4 separate regions of the Homo sapiens genome follow, and regions 2, 3 and 4 are each linked to region 1. Evidence: promoter capture Hi-C in human tissues and cell types (Jung and others, 2019). All regions are on one chromosome and are shown on one strand. Each heading gives the region's core, a stretch centred on a gene start or on the middle of the fragment in contact. The rest is flanking DNA. Distances are from core to core; before and after follow the strand shown.

Evidence for each region. The method cuts DNA at HindIII sites, captures the fragments that hold promoters and counts their contacts. A contact is called where the count stands out against the background at its distance.
Region 2: a contact is called between a fragment that was not itself captured here and the fragment with the promoter of MMP17 in region 1, in 1 of the 25 tissues and cell types used here (lymphoblastoid cells).
Region 3: a contact is called between a fragment that was not itself captured here and the fragment with the promoter of MMP17 in region 1, in 1 of the 25 tissues and cell types used here (dorsolateral prefrontal cortex).
Region 4: a fragment that was not itself captured here is called in contact with the fragment with the promoter of MMP17 in region 1 in 1 of the 25 tissues and cell types used here (dorsolateral prefrontal cortex).

What each region holds. Positions count from the first base shown.
Region 1 is chr12:131,826,988-131,829,827 of GRCh38, reverse strand. MMP17 (matrix metallopeptidase 17) reads right to left here and starts at 1,435. Exons shown (of 10, transcript NM_016155.7): 1 at 1,175-1,435. The coding sequence starts at 1,333. RefSeq lists a silencer at 1,441-1,570. The HindIII fragment of the contact is 32,715 bases long and covers 1-2,840 here.
Region 2 is chr12:130,776,133-130,778,972 of GRCh38, reverse strand. No RefSeq gene overlaps it. Among named protein-coding and RNA genes, the nearest start is that of RIMBP2, 61 kb to the right of the region's middle. RefSeq lists a silencer at 2,055-2,349. The HindIII fragment of the contact is 9,624 bases long and covers 1-2,840 here.
Region 3 is chr12:130,805,615-130,808,454 of GRCh38, reverse strand. STX2 (syntaxin 2) reads left to right here. Exons shown (of 11, transcript NM_194356.4): 6 at 1,365-1,473. Among named protein-coding and RNA genes, the nearest start is that of STX2, 32 kb to the left of the region's middle. RefSeq lists an enhancer at 1,639-2,561. The HindIII fragment of the contact is 5,694 bases long and covers 1-2,840 here.
Region 4 is chr12:130,825,336-130,828,175 of GRCh38, reverse strand. STX2 (syntaxin 2) reads left to right here. Exons shown (of 11, transcript NM_194356.4): 2 at 909-983. Among named protein-coding and RNA genes, the nearest start is that of STX2, 12 kb to the left of the region's middle. The HindIII fragment of the contact is 9,657 bases long and covers 1-2,840 here.

The DNA of each region.
Region 1 (2,840 bases), core at 186-2,685:
AACGGTGGCCAAATCGGCTTCCCATCCAGACCCCCTGGCCAAGTCCTGCCAACCACAGGGGCTGCGGGTGCCACCCAAGTGGCCCCTCCATATGCCTCGACTGCCTGAAATACACCTGCGCTGACTTGCTTGGACCCCAAGGTTTTGGAGCTCCTGAATGTCCACTGCGCTGGGCGAGGGGCCCTGCCAGGACCCCACTGGGAGACTGTCCGCGGACGAGGGCCAGGCCGAGTACTTGTGTGGGGCGGGGAGGCCTCGGCTCCTGGCCCGACTCCCTGGGTAGGAGTCCATTGAAGGCAGCGGTGGGGCAGGAGCCTCAGAAGGAACCAACGAACCCAGCGGGAGTTCACCCGGCCGCCCCAGCGGGGGGGCGCTGACCCCACGACGTGTGCTCTAAATCTTCCGGGTCCACAGGAGACGCGAGTCCCGGCTGCGGAACAGGGGAGGGGGCTGTAGGAAGAGGCCACGTCGCTGCCCCCAGGCAGGGTTTCTAAGCTGAGCTGGGGACAGCTACTGGGTGTGGAGTGAGGAAGGCTCTCCCCGCGCCCCCGGCTCAGCACTGTACCAGGGCAAGGCAGGGCCAGCCTGGCCGACCTGGGGTGGAGGGGAAGGAGGCTGAGGGCCAGGTCCTTGTCCAGTGGGGAGCTGGGGGCCAGCATCCCTGTGCCCCCAACACCCTCAACCGAGCAAACTCGGGGGCTCAAGGCTTTCGGGGTGCCCCCACTCCGTAGCCCCTGCCCTTCCTCGCTTTGTGGGTGCGTGCTCCTGCCCCCGCCACTCCCACCCGGAACGCACGCAGCGCGCAGAGCTCGGGGCGGCCGCGATGCCTGCTCTCGCCCAGCCCGGCTGCTCCGGGGCTGCTGCAAGCCGGCGACCCGGGCTCCGGGTGGGCGACCCCCTCACAACTCCACGGGCTCCTGCGGCTGCGGCGCGCTCCCAGCGCACGGAGCCGGGACGGCAGCCGGCGCCTCCCCAGGACTCGCGTGCGCTCGCCCGGTCGCTCAGCCCGCGTCCCTGCCTCAGTCTCCCCACCCAGGAAATGGGTCCAGGGCGCCAGGGCTCCCGCGCGACGCCGACGTGCACTGCTGGGGTCTTCCCGGTCCCCGCCACCCGGCCCGCGGAGACCCCCGGCTCCGGCCCAGGAGCTCCGCGCCCGTCCCGCCCGCGCGCTCACCACTCCCAGGCTGAGGTCCTCGGCGCGCGGCGCGGGTGCGGGCGCGGCGCAGCCCCCGCGGGTCCCCAGCGCCAGCAGCAGCAGCAGCGGCAGCGGCAGCCGCGAGAGTCCGGGCCCTGGGGGCGGCGGGCCGGGTCCCCGGGCTGCGCGGCGCCGCATGGCGCTCACATGGGCCCGCGGGCGGCGTGCAGGGTCCCGCGCCCTCCGCTTCGCGTTCCGCAGCCCGGCGCCCTCCGCTCTCCGCGGCGCCCCCGCCGGACTGAGCCCCGCGCGGCAGCCTCAAGCGGCGGGGCGGGGCCATGCAAATGTATGCTAACGAGGCCGGCCGCCTTAAAGGGCCCGCGCCGCCTCGGACGCTGCCACCCCCGCCCGCCCCGCCGTGTCCGCGACGGGACTGGGTCCGCGGCATCACAGGGAAGGCGTTTCCCCGGGTGTCTTAGGACGCTCTTGGGGCGGCGGGGACGCGCGGGATGGGCGCGGAGGCGGGGGTCGGGGCGCCTGCGGGGAGCTGACCCTGACTCCCCTCTCCGGCCGCGCTCCCGGGTCCACCCCCCACGGCGCCGAGGCCCGGGTTCAGACCCGGGTTCAGGCCCCGGAGCCGCCGCCGCAGCGCAGCAGGTGGGCGCTTGGTGGAGCCCGCGGACCGCGGGAGAGGGAGGGTGGGGCTTGGGGGGCGCGGGGGACTGGAGGGCGAGGGCGGGTGTTGGGGGGGCTGGGGTCCTCGGCGGAGGCTCTGCGGTCCCTGCGGGCCTGGGAGCGAGAATGTTAACTTGTAATGTTTGTTGGAGCGCAGCGTGTGCCTGGCACATGCCCAGGAGTTACATAAATAATTTCATTTACTTACAACATTTATGAGATGAAAACTATGATTTCCATTTCGCAGACAAAGAAACTGAGGCCCAAAGAAATGAAGTAACTTATGGGAGGTCCTGGAGCGGGCAAGCGGCAGAGCCAGGGTCAGAGCCCGAGCAGGCGCTTGTGTGGATTGAACTCGTGCAAGTTGCGTACAGGCTGCCCACCGAGTGGGAGATCTTGGGAGAGGGCAGGGGGTGAGGTTCAAGGGTAACCCTTGCCTTTATTCAGCTTCTCCTCGTGCTGGACAGCATGGCTTCCCCTCCTTCCCAGGCCCTCCTGCTCCACCACCCCAAATCGCAGCTGGTACTGTCAGGACTGAGGTCTCATTCTACGGACAGGGAAACTGAGGCTCGGCCCCTTTTACCAGAACTGGTCTCAGGGAAGTGGTGCCCCTCCCCTCCTGTGAGGGCCGACTCCCCCCAACCACCCCCCCCCCCCCCCCCCCGCTTCCCTGGGTACTCTGGCCCATCCTGTCCCTGCTGCCCTCAGAGCCTCCCTGGCCCGGTCTGAACAGGGTGATTCCACACCTGCTTCAGATGACCTTGGTTCGGACTGATGGGATCACCTGTAGGAGGTGGGGACTTTCACAGGACATCCCGGATTGTTTTTTCTTTCTTTCTTTTTTTTTTTTTTGCTCTGTTGCCCAGGCTGGAGTGCAGTGGCACGATCTTGGCTCACTGTAATTTCTGCTTCCTAAATTCAAATGATTCTCCTGTCTCAGCCTCCTGAGTAGATGGGATTTCAAGCGTGCACAACCGTGCCCAGCTAATTTTTGTATTTTTAGTAGAGACGGGGTTTCACCATGTTGGCC
Region 2 (2,840 bases), core at 211-2,710, 1.1 Mb after region 1:
CTGTCCCCCTCTTCCGCAAAAAAACAAAAAGGAAGAGCGATTATGAGGTTCCTGAGGCCATCTAGACAGGAGGTGGCGGGGACTTAGAGTGGCAGCTGAAGTTGGGGCAAAAGAGGTTGGACACTTTATCAATATACTTTGAGGTTTGAGTCAAAAGCCCTTTGGCTGGGCTGTTAGAGGGTATGGGGTATCTTTATGGGGTAATGAAAAGATTCTAAAATTAATGGTGACAGTTGCACAATTCTGTGAATATCCTAAGAACAATTGAATCGTATGGTATATGAGTTATGTCTCAACAATGTTAACAGAAATGAGGATTTGCAGATGGATTTGGTGTTGGGGTCTGAGAAGGAGAGGAGGCAAGGAAGACCAGCCTGGGCAGCTGGAAGGATGGTCTTCAAGGAGGAAAGCAGACAGAGGAGGGGCAAGTGTTAGGGGAGGGCTAAGAGTTTCAGGAGTTCAGTTGTGTTTTTTGTTTTGTTTTTTGAGATGAGGTCTTGCTCTATTGCCCAGGCTGGAGTGCAGTGACATGATCACAGCTCACTGCAGCCTCGAACTCATGGGCTCAAGCAATCCTCCTGCCTCAGCCTCCCAAGTAGCTGGGACTACAAGTGCACACCACCACACCTGGCTAATTTTTAAATTTTTTTGTAGAGATGGGGTCTTGCTGTGTTGCCCACGCTGGTCTCTAACTCCTGAGCTCAAACAGTGCTCCTGCCTCAGCCTCCCAAAGTGCTGGGATTACAGGTATGAGCCACTGGGCCTAGCCCAGGAGTTCAGTTAGGTCTCGGCTGTGATCAGATATGCAAGGGGATATGGGGGAAGCATTTGGACACTCAACACTGGCTCTGGGGAGAGGGCCGCAGGATGAATGACAGGAGCACCTGGCTGGTGAGTGACAGGGGGAAGACAAGGGGCAGGAGTGAGCCCTGGACCCCTGATGCTCCCAAGTTAGGAGGGGAGGAGCGGCCAGCCAGGGAGGGGACGTCCCAGAAGCCAGGAGGTTCTGTGTTTCATTTCCTCACCGGAAGCAGAGAGCATGGGCACAGAGAGACCTTTCTTTACTGGGCAGAAGCAGCAGTGCCAGCCCAGGGTACATGACAAGTGCCTCAGCATGTGGGATCAGGGAGTGGGGATGCTGGCAATTGTGGATTGGAGGCTCTGGGTGGCAGGAGGCTGCCTTGGGGCTATAGCTGTTGCCATGTACAAATAAGAGCCAAGGGCTGCTGGGCATCAAACGTTCAAGAGAAACTGGAAATTATGAGATTTTGATTGGCTTTTCAAAATGTCCATTTCATTTTAAAAACAAAAACCTACATGTGCCTAACCACACAAGTCTGTGTCCCCACCTGGCCTGTGGCCCGTCACTGTGTTCTGCTTTCTAACACAGGGAGTTACTGCCAGGGGCATGGAGTCTCTGTCAGGCCTTTTCCTAAGCAGGTGTACCCTGGGAGAGGCATGGGCTGTTCAGGGTGTCGGTGCACCTGCACTGGTGTTGACCCTTAGTGTGATGCCAGGCAGGGGCCCTCAGCCCCCCAGGATCCAGCTGGGTCTGAAGTTGAGGGAGGAGGTGGAATCCTGCATGAAGAAAGCTCTGCTGGCTGAGAGCCTGGCTCCCACGCTGACTGTGTGACTGTGGGCAACTTATTTAATGATCCTAAGCCTGAGTTTCCTCCTCCGTAAAATGGGTTCATAACAGTGCTCACATTTTTGGGCCACAGCGAGTATTTAATAAGACTGTACATAAAAGCCGGGAGTGGAGGCATGTGCCTGGAGTCCTGGCTGCTGGGGAGGCTGAGGTGGATCACTTGAGCCTTGGAGTTCGAGGCTGCAGTGCGCTATGATCATACGTGTGAATAGCCATTGCCCTCCAGCCTGGGCAGGATAGTGAGACCCCATATCTAAAAGGAAAAAAAATATTCTACACGTACAGAGCTTAGGGTGTTACTTGACACATAGACACTCAGTAAATGTGATGAAATGCATTTTGCGTGAATATTTCGGCTCTGGCTATTTACATTAGTCCAGAAGGTGAACCCTGTGCTACTTAAGTTTTTATAGCAGCACTGCGAGCGTAAGCAAAACCAGCCACAGTGCAGCAGAACAGTAACAGGAGAGCCGGCTGGGGCCAGAAACCAGCAGCTGGACAGCGCTCTCATGGAGGCAAAGCCTGTTCTGACCCCAGCTCCAGCCTTTTCTAGCCCTGCGGCCGCATCGTCCCCTGCACTGCTACTTCCTGTTTGAACAATAGGACCTCAGTGCAGCTTGATTCAGCGAGCGTTAAATGAAATAACGGGAGAATGGACTTTGGCTCTGACCCCGGCCATAATGTTTGCTGTTATTACAAAGTGAGGGCCAAGATTACAGCAGATCCGCACACACGGAGGTTAGAGGTGTTTTGGGGTATTGTCAGAGAGAGACTAACAGAACTGTCTTTGGACCCATGGATGGTTTTGTAAGGAAGTAGTGCCTAACGCAAGTTGTAGTAAAGACCCATGGGTAAATGAAAACGCCTGTCCTGGGACCCGGGAGACCGGGAGGGAGCTCCAAGGCTCTTGGCCCAAGGGCGACTTGCTGGGAGGTGCCTCCTTCCAGCTGGGAAGCCAGTGCCCAGAGCAGATGCCTCTGCTCCGCCACAGCGCTTTGAAATGGTGACTCAGGCTTCATGCACGCCCACTGCTGCCCGTCAGAACTCTCGGCTTCAGCAGTTAGCTTGGAAGGCAGTCGTGAGCGGGGTATTTTGGGCAGCATCTCAGCAGAGGGGCCCCAGCTGTGCGGGTGTTCTCCGCCTCTGCAGGCGCTGCCTGCCCTGCAGAACTCCCTCCTCGCGGCCCGGGGAG
Region 3 (2,840 bases), core at 163-2,662, 1.0 Mb after region 1:
CAAAGTTGAGGACACACTTGGAGAAAAGAAATACAAATTAGAGTAGGATCTGTGGTTTGTGCCTTTCCTGAAGAGGGTTTTGAGGACTTCAGTATTTAAAGGGGAAAGAGCGGGCAGGAGAGGAAGGAGGAAAGGGGAAAAAAAAGAGAAAAAGTGGGGGTAGGCAGCGGGGTGGCCACACTGCTGTGAGGCTTTGCTCAGGGCTCACTGCGTTCACATTTCACATGTGGGAAGAGAGGAGTGGGGGTCGATTCTGCACTCCTCCCGTGCCCAGATCCGCCTCTTACGTGGGCCAGTGTGAGCCTGAGGTGAGGGAGGAGCTATACATGCATTTCTCAGGGTGGGCCGAGGGTGACTTCTAGTCTTGTCTTTGTCCTGTACCTGTGAAGGTAAGCGGCTAATGTACATTGTCAGGGTGAGATTCTGCAGAACTCTGTTTTAGAGTTAGTTTTTGGTGGGGGGGATATGGATTCTGAAAGATTCTGGGACCTACGAGGAATTTCCTTGTGAGCACTTTGTGCAGGAGGCTGCTGGGGCGATGTGCGGCCTTCTGTCACTGCAGCCATCTGTTTGAGAAGAGGAGGGAGGGCAGTGTTTTGCATGACTCAGTTCCCAAGCTTAACTGTCCCTTTGGGATAGTGAGTGTGAGGTCCTGCGATTTTATTTTCCTTTCACAGTATTTATAGAAATCTCTTTATTGTGAAGAAAAATCTATTCGGTCCATCAACAGAGTTCTATTCCAAAGAGTAGGGAATTATCCAAATGATTTTAGTGTTTGTGGTAAGGCCGCCACGTTTTAGTGGTTTGTGGTACTGCCCAGAGGAAGACAGAGCCCTGAGGCCTCGAGGGCACGAGGCGATGAAGCACGCGGGCTCTGGGGTCCGCCTGCCTGGGTCCCCTCATGGGCACAAGGCGATGAAGCACGCAGGCTCTGGGGTCCGCCTGCCTGGGTCCCCTCATGGGCACAAGGCGATGAAGCACGCGGGCTCTGGGGTCCGCTTGCCTGGGTCCCCTCATGGGCACAAGGCGATGAAGCACGCGGGCTCTGGGGTCCACCTGCCTGGGTCCCAGTGCTGATCTGTGTTTATCAGAAAAGCCTGTGACCTTGGGCTAATGACCTCAAAGTCATGGTTTTCTTTAAGTAGGGTTGTGACCGGCATAGTAGGGGTCTTGTAAAAATTAGGTAAGATCATGCATGCAAAGTTCTTAGCACAGATGCTGCCATGGGGACTTTGCCATTGTCATTTTCCATTTGCAGGAGCAGAATAACATGTAGTTTGAGTTTCCAAAATGCATGTCTTGCATGTCACTTTCAGTAGAAGGCATGGCCCTCAGATACGAATGTAGTTTTCCTGTGTTGTTAGCATTCGGTGCTGTCTCGGAAGTTTGTGGAAGCCATGGCGGAGTACAATGAGGCACAGACTCTGTTTCGGGAGCGGAGCAAAGGCCGCATCCAGCGCCAGCTGGAGATAAGTGAGTAATGGAGACTCCGTCTTTGTTAAAATCATGTTTTTCTCCCTTAAGGTCTCACTTCAAATGACTTTAACTTCAGAAAAGGAAATCCATGTCTATTTTCACCAATAGTGTAAAACCCAAAGACCACTCGTAGCTTCCTATGCCGTGAGTCAGGCAAACCTGTTCTTCCTGTCTTCAGGAAGTCCTAAGCGGTGGGGTTTACCTTGCTCATTGCTGTTGCTTTTAGAGTTTCAGGGAGATTGGGAGAGTGCTCAGTCATTTCCTCTTTGAGTGTTTCTGTGTCCTCAGTCCCGCCCTGCCCTGGTTCGGGGGCATCTTCATGGCTCCTCACATCTCTCCTTGTCTGTGAGCAGAGGCAGCGGCCCTATTGCCCCAGACTCTTTTCAGGGGTGTCTATGGGGACAGTTGGCTGTGGCAGTGGAGATGGCGCCTTCTTCGGGGACAGACGGGTCTGTTTCAGGGATAAAGGTTGGTCAGGTTTGTAGACTCCCCATTGTGAAAGATTGGGGTTCCCAAGCTCGGGTCCTTCAGCTGTGACACAAACCCACTGTGAGGACGTCCCACTGCAGCTGCTCTGCCTCTCCCCATGAGACTGGGGGCCGTGGACAGCTGCTCATGAGCCTCAGGTTGCCTGCTGTGCTGTGAGTAGGAAATCCCTTTGTCCCTGACCTGGGGCCTTGGACCTTCTGCCGGCCCCCACGGAGCCCTGGCAGGCCAGCGTGTCAGCTCGCAGGTCAGATGAAGCCTCAGGCCCATCCCGGCTCCCAACGCCGCACATCCCCCTCAGAGAATGTTGTCATATGCCCGCCAGGCCGCTTGACCTTGTCCCACAGCTCAGCGAGGCTCCTCATGTTTTAGATACTCTTTTCCAGTGTGTTTGGTTTTGGTCAGTTTCTCTTGCTTGTCTGATCTGCCTTTAACCTCCTCTGGTGTATGTTTCATCGGAGACACTGGTTTCTGTTGCTAGTTCTGCTGGGTGTTTTACATGTCTGCTGTGTTGCTCCCCACTGTACAACTGGGACGCACTTGTAGTAACTTGAACCGTCTTTGTCTGCCAACTCCAGTGTCCTGTCTGCTCTGGTTGGTTGATTTCCTTCCTTTCTGTGGCTTGTGTTTTCCTGCTTCTTTGCGAGCCTGGTAAGTTTCGAGTGTGTGCCAGACATTGTGAACGTTACTTTGTTGGGTGCTGAGTATTTCTGTATTTTGAGTATTTTTGTAAATCTCCTTGGGCTTTGTTTTAGAATGTAGTTAAATCACATGAGCATGGTTTAGCCTTTGGGATCTTGCATTTAGAGGGAGCAGAGCAGCTTTATTTGAGGGCCTGTCATTCCTCACTCCTGAGGTAAGACCCTTCTGAGCACCTG
Region 4 (2,840 bases), core at 198-2,697, 1.0 Mb after region 1:
ATTAATATTACCCATGAAAGTAGTGTTACCTTATAAAACACTGATAAATATCTTATCCTTAGGGTCTTCTGATGGAGATGGGACAATACTATCTCTATTTCATGGACAAGAGGCAGAGACTGAGACAAGCTAATGGGCTGCTGGGGAGGAGGCTGGAGCCCAGGTCTTCAGCTCCTGATCAATGGTCGTTCTTCTGGGTGGTGCTGGGGTTTGCTTTGTTTTGTTTTGTTTTTAGAGACAGGGTCACTGCAGCCCCAACCTGCCAGGTTCAGGTAGTCCTCCCACCTCAGCCTCCTAAGTAGCTGGGACCACAGGCATGGGCCACTAGGCCCAGCTAAACCTGCCAGGTTCAGGTAGTCCTCCCACCTCAGCCTCCTAAGTAGCTGGGACCACAGGCATGGGCCACTAGGCCCAGCTAATTTTTTGTAGAGACAGGTTTTCACCATGTTGCCCAGGCCGGTCTTGAATTCCTGGACTTAAGCATTCTGCCCCCCTCAGCCTCCTAAAGTGCTGGGATTACAGGCGTGAGCCACTGCGGCTGGCCAGTGTTTTTACTGTTTATGGAAAATATGCAACACCAGCAGTTTCACTTCTTGAGGGTAAAACTGGCCTGTGTTATATTGACTTACATAGTGAGAACTAAATGATTCTAAGCAGCTTAGTTCTGAGAAAGCCACCCCTTGTTTCTCTCCAGGTCTTCCACCTTCTGGCTGCTTCAGCCAGGATCTGTTGTGTTGAAAATGTTGCGGAGTTCAGTTGGAGTAGATAGTGGTGGCTGCTAGTCTGTTACAATTTGGTGCTGTAGTGAGTTGAGATCTTGTGGGTATTGAACTGTTTTTGTATTTCAGTTCGCTATTTGTGCCTACATAAAAATTTTAAAAAACTGAATTTTCCATTTTTCATTGTAGTGTAGGAAGAATGATGATGGAGACACAGTTGTTGTGGTTGAGAAAGATCATTTCATGGATGATTTCTTCCATCAGGTAAGAGCGTTTAATGAAACCCAATCATAGCCTGCCTACCTGTCCTCCCTCCCTCCCCCCACCCCTCCCTCCTTTCTTCCCTCCCTCTCCCTTTCCTCCCCTCCCCTCCCCACCCCTCCCTCCCTCCCTTCCTTTCTTCCTCCCTTCTTTCTTTTTCTTTTTCCTTTTCTTTTTCTTGTTTTTGGAGACAGAGTCTTGCTCTGTTGCCCAGGCTGGAGTGCAGTGGCACAATCTCGGCTCACTGCAACCTCTGCCTCCCAGGTTCAAGTGATTCTCTTGCGTCAGCCTCCCAAGTAGCTGGGACCACAGGTGTGTGCCACCACACCCAGCTAATTCTTTTTTTTTTGCACTTTTAGTAGAGACGGGGTTTCACCATGTTGCCTAGGCTGGTTTCAAACTCCTGAGCTCAGGCAATCCGCCCGCCTCAGCTTCCCAAAGTGCTAGGATGACAGGTGTGAGCCCTTGTGCCTGGTGGCTTTCTTCTTTAAAGATTTATATCAATATGATTGTGCATTTATCATATTTGAAATAATACTTAAGCTAATATTTTTAAAAGTTGTTGTTTGAATTACGTAAGTTCTCTGGAATTTTTAGTATGATCACAATGTTAATAATGAGAAAAATGCAAATCATCGTTCTAATGCAGTCCGGGAGGGAACTGGGTGTGGATGGTGGAGCTGTGCACGTGGCCTCCGCGTGGGTTGGGGCCGGGCCTGCAGCGCCCTCTGCTGGTGGGCGGCCACTTCTCCCACCCGGTGCTGGCTGCTGCAGGAGCACCGCCTCCTTGCAGGCTGCCTTTTGGAGGTCCTGCGGCGCCCCTTAAGAGAGTTTTACAAAGGCCTTCCTGCAAGACTGGCAGTGTCTCAGAACGAGGCCTCCTTGGTTCTTCAGGAAGTGGTGGTTCCGGCAGCAGAGGTGGCGCCTGGCTGTGGGGGCAGGGGTCAGGTGTGCGTGGCTCCCACCAGCACTGCCATCCGTCCACTGGTGGGTGTGAGTCCTGAGGCAAGTGCCTAGAGCAGAGGGCTCAGGGTCTGAAATCGGTGACAGATCAGCTGTATATGAGCTCAGGTAGAAGACTCAGAGGAAAGTCACAGGTGACCCAGTGGCTGATATTTTAAAATGTGGCGGCCTGGCGGTGCTGGGATCCTATCTGAGGTGTGAGGCCTCCCCCTCCTGCTTATCTCCCCAGCTCAGCTCTTGGGCTTAGGCCCTGCTGAAATTCTCAAACCTAAGAATTATCTGATCTAATGTTGCTTAATTTCAAATTTTTGAAATTGAGTCACAGAACAAATATATTGACCTTGTAAAACATGAAGAAACGAAAACACACGTCCAGTGGGTTTTTTAATGACGGAACCTTCATTGCAGGACTCGTCTTGATTATGCTGAGTCTCATGGGATAGTTTCACTCAGCAGCCTCATCTGGCCTAGCAGTGCCTGGATTTGAACATTTTAATAGGTTTATAAAAGCATATGGAAAGTTACTAGTTTTTCAGATTCAGCCAGAATTTCTTGAATATCTCACGTAAGCCTAGTCACTGGTTTTCTAGTATTTGTTAGTTGCTACTGTTATTTAAAGGAAAAAACCATGAGATTAAATTGTTAGCTACAAGGAACTTCCTTTAAGGTATGAAGGAGTTAAGATGCTGGGATTTCCTGATTTCACTTCTTGGAAATGAGACTTTTTAAATTGTCTTTAGCCTTCCTGCCCCCTTTGTCAAATTACTATTTTTCTGATTTTATTCCTTTTACTTGGTTGCTTAACTCTTCCATGTAAGTTCTTTGTAAAAATGTATTTATTTTAAAGAATCTCCTGCCATTAAGTGTTGCATTTAATAGAAAAGTCACATAGTGCAG